Regions from separate parts of the Homo sapiens genome. Here region 2 is linked to region 1. The links are contacts of gene promoters, found by promoter capture Hi-C in blood cells and fetal thymus (Javierre and others, 2016). All regions are on one chromosome and are shown on one strand. Each heading gives the region's core, a stretch centred on a gene start or on the middle of the fragment in contact. The rest is flanking DNA. Distances are from core to core; before and after follow the strand shown. Region 1 holds the start of TESC (tescalcin). Region 2 overlaps SPRING1 (SREBF pathway regulator in golgi 1).

Region 1 (4,778 bases), core at 1-2,500:
ATCGAGACTAACGTTCAGAACAGACCTGATACCTGACGGTCATTGATGGTGGTGTCACTAAGCACTGCAGAGCCTTCAGGAGAGCCTTGACCTTGATGTTCTGCCCTGGCTGTGTGCCTCTCCAGGGGACAAGATTCCATAGCGCCCACCAGCCTCTGTGGCCATGTGCTGTGTCCACGCCAGGCCCTCTGGTGGACATCTCATTAACTTATCCTTATTTTAAGGAGGAGGAATCACATTACACAGGCAACAGCATCGGCCCCAGTCACCCCAACTGGATGGAGAGCCAACCCCTCAAGCCATCTTAACCCAGAACTTCCCTAATGGGCATGGGGACCACCGGCATTGCCTTCTCTCCAGCAGTTTGTCCCAAATGCAGCCTCCTGGGCCCACTTCTGCAGTTGTTTTTTTGTTTGTTTGTTTTTTGAGACAGAGTCTTGCTCTGTCGCCCAGGCTGGAGTGCAGTGGCAAGATCTCAGCTCACTGCAACCTCTGCCTCCCAGGTGCAAGTGATTCTCCTGCCTCAGCCTCCGGAGTAGCTGGGATTACAGGCATGTGCCACCGCGCCTGGCTAATTTTTGTGTTTTTAGTAGAGACGGGGTTTCACCATGTTGGCCAGGCTGGTCTCGAACTCATGAGCTCAAGTGATCCGCCCGCCTTGGCCTCCCAAAGTGCTGGGATTACAGGCGTGAGCCATGCGCCCAGCCCGCTCCTGCAGTTTGAGGTGCCTCTCAGCCACCGGGCTGTGCAGGGCCCACACGGGCCGCCACGTGGGTGTGTTCACCTCAGAAGGTGCTGGGGCTTTCCTGGAAAAAACCAAAGCGCATGGTGCATTTTCAAATAGGATTATTATTACTGTTGTTCTCCATAGAGCTATTTCATGCTCGCTGACTTCCTTGACTATCTCAGTGGAGTTTCCCTCCTAAGATCTGGAGGATGTAAGGTGGGATGGGTTGGGAGTGGGCATAGCACCTCCCAGGGGTCCCACCCCTCCTACCCACGCCCCCAAATTTGCTCACACCTGCTTCCTTCCAGATCCAGCAGGTGTGCGGAAGGGACGAGGTACGTGAGCACTGCTGCACGAACGGGGACTCCAGAGCGGTGGGCTCCGGGGTCCCCTTCCCGGCGGTTTCCGGGCCGGGGCGGGGCGGGGCGCTCCCCTAGCCGCGCAGTGCGCGAAACCGGCGTGCGCTAGGACCGCGGCGCGCCGCCCTCCGCCGTTATATGAGGCCCCGCTCCGGCCCCACGCGGAACCCGCGGCTCCGAGCCTTCGCCGGCGTCCCGACCCGAGGCCGGACCCGAGGCCAGTCCCGCCGCTGCGCAGCCGAAGCCAGTGCGGGGCCTGAGAGGGACGCGCGCCCCGGGGCCCCCGCCGCGGGCACCATGGGCGCTGCCCACTCCGCGTCTGAGGAGGTGCGGGAGCTCGAGGGCAAGACCGGCTGTGAGTACCCGCGGGGGGCGGCGCGGGGACCGGGGCGGGACCTCCGAACGGCCACTGTTGGGGACCCCGGCCCGCCGCCGCGCTGTGTGACCTTGGGCCAGTGGCGGGCCCTCTCTGCGCCTCAGTCTCCTCCTCTTTCAAATGGGTCCCCGCTGGCCACCTCGCGGGCTGCGGCGAGGAGCTCCGCGGCGATGCTCAGTGCCGCAGCCGCTCAGCTTCGGACTGGCCCGGGAACTCCCTGGCCGGGGGACTGCGGACCGGGGAGGGAGCGGGGCCCAGGCTTCCCAAGCGCAGGGCAGGTGCCTCAGGCCGGGCGGGCAAGTCCCTCAGGCACCCCCGCTGGCGCGCGCGCCCCACACCTGAGAGTCGTTTGCATTCGTGAGCGCGAGAGCGGAAAGTTTTGAAGTCGGCGGACCTGGGTGGGAACAGGTCTCCGACGCTCCCCGGCCGGGTGACCTTAGTCGGGAGAGCCGGCGCCCGGCGCCTGCTTTCGTCCTCGCATCTGTAAAATGGGTTCAGGCAGCCTCATCCCCGCGGGTGGCTGGGAGACTTAGCGAGGCAGCGGCCGCAGAGCACTTTGCCCGGAGCCCAGCGTCCTCCCCTGAGTTCGCTGAGTCTCCCGGGACCAGCAAAGGCTGCGCGCCCCGCATCGGCCCGGAGGCGGGGAGCCCTGGGAGGCCTGGCCGAGCTGCCCGCAGGGAAATGGCGGAGAAAGCGCTTCTCTGCCCGAGTTCAGCCGGGCTGGGGACTTGGCCCTGGGTCCTGAACTCGGCATGGCCAGTTCTGCCTCTGGCTGTGGACCAGGGTGTGGACTGGAGACCGCGGGGGCCAGGTGTGTGGGCAAACCGGCTTTGGCGAGCGACAGACCGGCTGTGAACCCTGCCAGCTGCACTTCCTGGCTGTGTGACCTTGGGCTAGTCACTTTACCTCTCTGATTCTCAGCTTTCCTTCTCTGTTGTAAGAGTTCTCCTAGTACCTGGTAGACGCTCAGGAAATGGGAGCTGCAGATATTTTGGGAAAGAGCTAGCTCCTGGCACCTGCTTCAAGTGCAGAGAACCAGCGTCCAGTATTGATCACCAAGAGAGGGTGGCCCAGCTGTTTGTGTGTCAGCTGAAAAGCAACCCCTCTTGACCCCCAATCTAAATACCCCTTTCCAGGAGAACTGGATGAAAATTGCAGAAAACCATTAATAACTGGTGTGTGTATGCACGCACTTATACGTCTATATCTGTATCTCTGTGTGTGTAGAGATATAGAAATATCCAACTAAAGAAGTAAAAGGTGTGGCTCAGCATATATAATATGGTACCCTTTTTTCTGTTTTTTAAAAAAGGATCCTTTGAGCTGGAGCCGCAAAGTAAAAAGAAATAGAAAATGTAAAAAGAGGGGAAAATAAGAGTATACATTTGTAATTGCTATATTTGCAGACTGGAAGAATCCACCAGAAAGTACGAATGGATGCTTGGTGGGGGTTGCGGGGGGAGTGGAAGGGATGAAGGGAGAGTGAGCTTTTTCTCCGTAAACGTTTTTATATGTTCATTTTGAACTATGTTGGATATTTTACTTACTCAAAAAGTTTTATGCACTTCAATCCGAAGACTAATATGAGAGAGAAAGGAGGGATTCCTCTAGCTCTTACTTGCTTGGGTCTCCTCTGCTTTTATTATTTCTCATGTGCCCTCTCCTCGCCTCCCACTGCTTTGAATCTGGATGGGTGTCGATGGGCATTCTCTGTGGCTGGGATCCCCGTTGGAAGGGTGGGCTCTCCGGCAGCCCACGGGGCACTCGGGAATTCCACCTGGTTGTGGGTTTGACAGGGAGGAGGGGCTGCAGAGCATGCTGGGAGTCTTGTCAGTTTCCTGGGTCCAGCCTCCCACTGGGATGACAGATGCTGTGTTCCTGCTCTGTAACCTTCCTAGATGTAGCTGCAGCGGCTTCCCTTCTTGCTGCCCAGAGCTCAGACTTCATAACCCAAGGGAGATGGAGAGGGTCGGAGAGGAGGTTCTGAGGTTAGACTAGAGTAGGCAGGTGGAACTTTAGGTAGGTGGAAAGTTGCCCCCAGTCCTCCGAAAGGGACTGCGTAATTCGGTCACTTTTGCCCACTTAGCAAATATTTATAGACCAGGGGCTGGGGATTTAGAGATGACTCGGAGAGGCTGCTGTTCCTGGAGGGGGACACACAGTAAACAAAACGCCCGACAGGTGTTAAACTGTGAACGAGGCATAGCAGGGTGGCATGAGAATGGAGCTTTAGGGTGGATCCGGAGGTCCTCCCTGAGGAGGTGATAATGGAACAGAAATCCAAGTAAGAATGAGCCAGGGGTGTGCAAATCAGTGGAAAGGGCATCTCGGGCCGAGGGGACGTCGAATGCAGAGGCCCTGTGGCAGGGACAAGCCAGCAACAGTAAATAAGAATGCATGAGATGAGGACACAGCTGTCGTCAGGGCTCAGGCTGTGGCAGGAGCCTGGCTTCAGGGGCCTTGCCAGGTACCTTGGGCAAGTCACTTATGCTCTCTGAGCCTCAGTTTTATCTACTATAAAATGGGCATAGTCATAGTACCTCCCTTGAAGTTGTTGGGAAGGATTGAGTTAATATACATGAAGTAGTTAGACCAAACACATGTACATGGTTTGTTATTGACCATGCTTTAAACACTCTTGTATGTCCTGGTCGCTCCGAGCCATAGCTGAGAGTTGAGTCTTGGTCCCACCTCTCTGAGCTACATGACCTTGGGCAAGTCATCTTACTTCTCTGAGCCTCAGTACCCCCACCTGGATCCTGAAGTCATTGTGTGGATTTGATAAGGTTACGTGCGAGACGATCGGCTTGGCATGGGAACGTCAGCTCCCAGAGACCCAGTGGGTCAGGCAGGGCCCTTCCTCCAAGGCCATTCCCTTGGGAATCTTCCCTGAGAAAAAGGGAGAAAAGCCTCAGGGTAAGGTGGCCAGAGGACAGACTGAGCCCACAGGGCTGCTGACTCCCCCGCCTCCCTGAGGACCAAGATGACCCCTGACTTTCTGGGGAGGAATCAGCTTGGTCCCTTTCTGAGAACACCATCCAGAAAGGACCAGAAGGTCAGGCTGAGGCTGGTGATAATGAACATAATTCCCCAAGCACCTGCTGAGCATCAGGCTCCACGCTGGTGCTCTCTGCATAACACTCTTTATAGTAATGATCCCCCAGGAAGGCAGTGTTAGGGCCATTTTACAGGTGAGGAAACTGAGGCTTAGAGAGGTAAACCAGCTTGCCTGCAGTCCCACAGCTGCTAAGTGGAGGAGTTGGAGATCATGGGATCCCCAAGCCTACTTTCTTTTTTTACAGTTTTTTTTAATTTT
Region 2 (4,778 bases), core at 1,283-3,782, 390 kb after region 1:
AGTCTTGCTCTGTTGCTCAGGCTGGAGTGCAATGGCGTGATCTCAGCTCACTGCAACCTCCCCCTCCTGGGTTCAAGCAATTCTCCTGCCTCAGCCTCCTGAGTAGCTGGGATCACAGGCGTACACCACCACACCCAGCTAAGTTTTTGTACTTTTAGTAGAGACGGGGTTTCACCATGTTGGCCAGGCTGGTCACGGACTCCTGACCTCAGATGATCTGCCCGCCTGAGCCTCCGAAAGTGCTGGGATTACAGGCGTGAGCCACTGCGCCCGGCATGGAGCTGCTATTGATGGGTGAGCTCCACAGCTTTTGCAGAAGCAGAGGATATGACTTGAGAGCAGTGCTGTCACCTCTCAGCATGTCCCCAAGCCCAACTGGGGCCTCCTGGAGATGCCTCAGTCGGCACTGGCCCCAAGGGAATCGTGGGGAACAGTTGCACAATTTGCAAGTTTCTGAGTGCAGCTTTTCCCATCCTTGGGATCAGCAGATAAGTTGTAAACACAGGGAGGTACTGCTTATTGGATATACTTTTCATAAGTAGGACAGAATTCTTTTGGGACTCTAGAGTTGGGAACTACCACTTACTAGCGGCGTGGCTGAGGCAGTCTTCCTCCTCTGTGGCTCAGGCCCTTCATCTGTGAAATGGGGTCACAGCATCTGCCTCTCAGGGTCACTGTGAGGTGTCGATGTGAGCAAGGCCTGAGGCTTGGCAAGAAGTCAATGTCTGCAACTCAGCAGGGAGCAATGGCAGGGGCAGTCAGGGGTCGGCTCGGATAGGGGTGGGTGGGCTCCTGAGGTTGGAAGGGTAGGAATTACAGAGCTCTTGTTACTATTGTTGTTACTGTTTTTAAAGATACGATATTTCAGATAATTCAGGAGCACGTAAGGATGAAACTTAGGATAACCTAAAATCACACAACCTAGAGAGAAGCGCATTTTTGTCTTCCCCCATTTTCTAGGCAAAAATGAAAGTACTTTGTCCTCTTGAAAAACAATTCTCTAATGAATATCCTATGTTACATAGAGGCCTGTGTAATGCATTTGTGTGGCCACATGGTGTCAATTTCATGAATATACAATAATATTATTAATTCCCTGCTGAGGACATTAACTGGTTTCCAAGGCTGCTTGTTGTTTTTGCTACTACAAATAATGCATTGATGATAAATACTTTTACATACATGGTTGTATGTTTATCTGAACTATTTTCACCAATATATTCACCTAGTGTGTATGGAAGTGTCCATTTTTGTCATACCCCTGGTAACCCTGTGATATTATTTTTAAACATTTTGCTAATGGATCTCTGTTCTTGTTTGAATGTATTTAATTTCCAGCAGAATGAGCCCCATTCCTTATTTTGATTGGCCATTTATCATGTACATATGGTGAAATGCCTATTCGTGACTTAGCCAATGTTGTTTCTTTTTCTTACTGATTACTACAGTACATTTTTATATGAAAGCAGCCTTTGTCCCCTTCTCTTGTTTTTCAGCCCTGTGTTAGAAACAACTAAGCTCACATATTCACAAACCAACTTTTCCAGTTCATCTAGGGCAGTGGTGCTCAACAGGGGCAATTTTGCCCCCCAGGGAACATTTGGCAATGTCTGGAGACATTTTTGTCACAGGTGGGGAGGAGGGCAGTACTGTGGGCACTCGTGGAGGGAGGCCAGGGATGGTGCCCAACAGCCCCCACGACACAGAATTACCTGGCTGGAAGTGGGAGCCGGGTGGAGGGAGGGAAGCCCTGCTCTGGGGTCATATCTCCCCGTTAGATTGAACAGAGGAGCTCCTGGTAGCTGAGTGCTGACTTCATTATTTTTCCCCGCCCTTGCTTTCTACCCTGCTGAAGTGCTGCTGATTAAATTACCCTGAAATCCCCACAGGACACATTACTTCCTCACAGGTCTCTACTAGCCCAGCGCTGCCTCAAGGAATGGCATTATTCCTTTGCCACTGTGTCCTCACCGCACTCTTGGACTCCGCCGAATGCAGACACCCTCCTGTCTGCAGAAGGATCTGGAGGGGTAGAACGCTTCCCCTCTACGACGGATTGACTCCCCAGCACCTCACCAGCAGTTCTTTGAATGGAGTGGCTTTGGAGGTGGGAGTTGAGGAAGAAATGTGAGCCTGTCATTACAGGTTCTGTTTAGAAAACTAGTCATTCTACTAAAAAGGTATCACATAAGTAAGTAGGAGCAATAAAAACAAAGAAGATAGTGGGACTCCGAGAAGCTTTCCCCGCCTCTGGCCTGTTAGTCTATCGTTCGTTGGGCAAGGCTCTTCCAGTGTGTGACCTTTTGCGTGTTATCACAGCATGAGTGCAGTTTTGTGTACAGGCATCCCTATATTCAGCATGTATCTGCAACATGCCTTACCTCGTCTGCTGTCACAGAGCAAAGTGGAGCAAGTGGTCGCCGTTGGTCTGCACCTGAGCTGGGAGCCGAGTGGTGACGTGCATATGGGCCGACTGCGTCTCCACAGAACCTACTCAGTGATCTTCCTGTGTACGACTCAGTCCCTGATGTTGGAGTTGAACTGTAGGACTGTCTGTAAAATGAAAGTGCAGACTTTAATGTAGTAAAGAGAATGACTTGCCAGTTACAACCAATGAGCAAAGCAGTTAATTATTCAAATATTTTACCAAGAGTCCAGGTTTATTTTTTCTCAGGACTACACATTCTGTGAGACCAGAGGGACCAAGACATATCACTACCAGAAATGTGTTTTCATCAGCACTGCCAGAGGTTTTCATAGGGTAGTTTACTCTTGGAATTTTTAAATTCATACTTTTTTTTATGCAACGTGGGGTAGGTAAGCTTCTGATCACTGTGCACCCAGATTATCCCAAAATCGAAAGTGGTGTTGGCAGCCGGGTGTGGTGGCTCACACCTGTAATCCCAGCACTTTGGGAGGCCAAGGTGAGAGGATTGCTTGAGCCCAGAATTCGAGACCAGCCTGAGCAACATAGGGAGACCCTGTCTCTACAAAAAATAAAAAAAAGGAGCCAGGCATGGTAGTGCACACCTGTAGTCCCAGCTACTCAGGAGGCTGAGGCGGGAGGATGGCTTGAGTCCAGGAGGTCAAGGCTGCAGTGAGCCGTCATTGCGCCAGTGTGCTCCAACCTGGGCCACAGAGTGAGACCCTGTCTGAGGAGGGGAAAAAAGTGTTGTCTAAATGAGAAATCACCATTATCAGTAATTTAAGATTCCAGGCTATGTTGGTCACATCTCACTATTCTTTTTTTTTTGAAACGGATTCTCGTTCCATCGCCCAGGCTGGAGTGCAGTGGCACGATCTGGGCTCGCTGCAAGCTCTGCCTCCTGGGTTCACGCCATTCTCCTGCCTCAGCCTCCCGAGTAGCTGGGACTACAGGCGCCCGCCACCGTGCCCAGCTAATTTTTGTATTTTTAGTAGAGACGGGGTTTCACCGTGTTAGTAGCCAGGATGGTCTCGATCTCCTGACCTCGTGATCCGCCCACCTCGGCCTCCCAAAGTGCTGGGATTACAGGAGTGAGCCACCGCGCCTGGCCACATCTCACTATTCTTAAGGAAGAGAGAGAGCGAGAGAGAGTGTTGTCCTGTCCTGTGGGGATTGGGGCATTGTATTAAGTTGTACTGGGGGATGTCAAGATAGAAATGTTGAGTAAGTTACTACCTGAATAAATATTTGACCAGTTGATGCTAATTTGAATAGTAAATGTGATGACATTATATATTCTCAGGGATGTTTCCATACATTGGCTCTGTGTGTGCGTGTGTGTGTGTGTGTGTGTGTAACAAAAGCAGTATGAAGTATGTGAGCAATATCCTAATTTTATTGACAAGAGCACTGACCTTAATGACCTTGAGTAAATTACCCTCTCCGGCTTTGGTTTCCTCATTTGTCAATTAAGGGTGATGGCTAGCGTATCTTGCAGATCCAAATTCCAATTTTTGTAACAAGCCAAAAGTCCCCCTGGCTGTTAAAGCAAGACCAGAGCCCTCGTATCCCAGCGGCTGGGTCCCAGGCTTTTGATTTTCACAGGACAAATGTAGCCCAGCCATCTGGAGCCCGTTTTTCTCCAAACCAGGGCTTCCTCCTTCTCTCTTGCAGATTTCAACTGGGGCTCACCATTTTCTGCCTCTTCCTCCTCCAGTTTTAAAGAGACACCATATCCTTCTCTGCTGGGACCAACTTCCCATGTACTGCTGCCCTGCACCTGTGAAAACAGCTGCTGTGTTTTCTGTCATAAAAATAGCTGCCTTTTGGCAGAGAAGCACACAACGGTACTACGTTTCTGAGCCTTAATGCAGTGCTCAATTATTTAGGTGTGCTTCACCTGAGATACACAGAGCATCTTGGAACTCCTACTAAGCAGGGCTTCTACAGGCATTGCTCAGCTCAGTAAAAGGTTTTCCTTTCTCTGCTTTTGTGATTACCAGGCAGAAACCTTAAAATGTATGAACTTACAAAGAAATTAAATTGTGCCAAATTAGATTCCCAGCCCCTAGAGATAACCACTAATTAAAGTTCCGCTGGAGCGTTTTGCCTGTATTTTGTATATAAACGTGGATTTTGTATTTGTATGTAAATAAAGGTAGGACCCTGCTGTCCATATTATTTTAAAATAATTAGCTCCTGTTAGATTGATTTAATCCAATGATAGCGAATTCATTTGCAGAGCAGGCAAGCGCACTTTCCACTTCTATCATCCTGCCTGGAAGATTGAAGCCCAGTTAGAGGTTAAAACCCTTTCATAATTGCACAGGAGTTTAGCTTTGCCTGCTTTTTC

Evidence for each region. Contacts are between HindIII fragments. The CHiCAGO score rates a contact against its expected background, and 5 or more counts as called.
Region 2: a fragment that was not itself captured here is called in contact with the fragment with the promoter of TESC in region 1 in 1 of 17 cell types (total CD8 T cells); the score reaches 5.7 in total CD8 T cells.

The regions. Positions count from the first base shown.
Region 1 is chr12:117,095,888-117,100,665 of GRCh38, reverse strand. It overlaps TESC (tescalcin), which reads left to right and starts at 1,250. Exons shown (of 8, transcript NM_017899.4): 1 at 1,250-1,441. The coding sequence starts at 1,384. It overlaps TESC-AS1 (TESC antisense RNA 1), which reads right to left and starts at 1,199. Exons shown (of 3, transcript NR_120464.1): 1 at 1,022-1,199; 2 at 26-213. RefSeq lists silencers at 34-251, 1,118-1,256, 995-1,514, 1,575-1,684, 1,755-1,854. The HindIII fragment of the contact is 9,670 bases long and covers 1-4,778 here.
Region 2 is chr12:116,710,010-116,714,787 of GRCh38, reverse strand. SPRING1 (SREBF pathway regulator in golgi 1) reads left to right here. Exons shown (of 5, transcript NM_024738.4): 5 at 1-4,617. Among named protein-coding and RNA genes, the nearest start is that of SPRING1, 26 kb to the left of the region's middle. The HindIII fragment of the contact is 584 bases long and covers 2,241-2,824 here.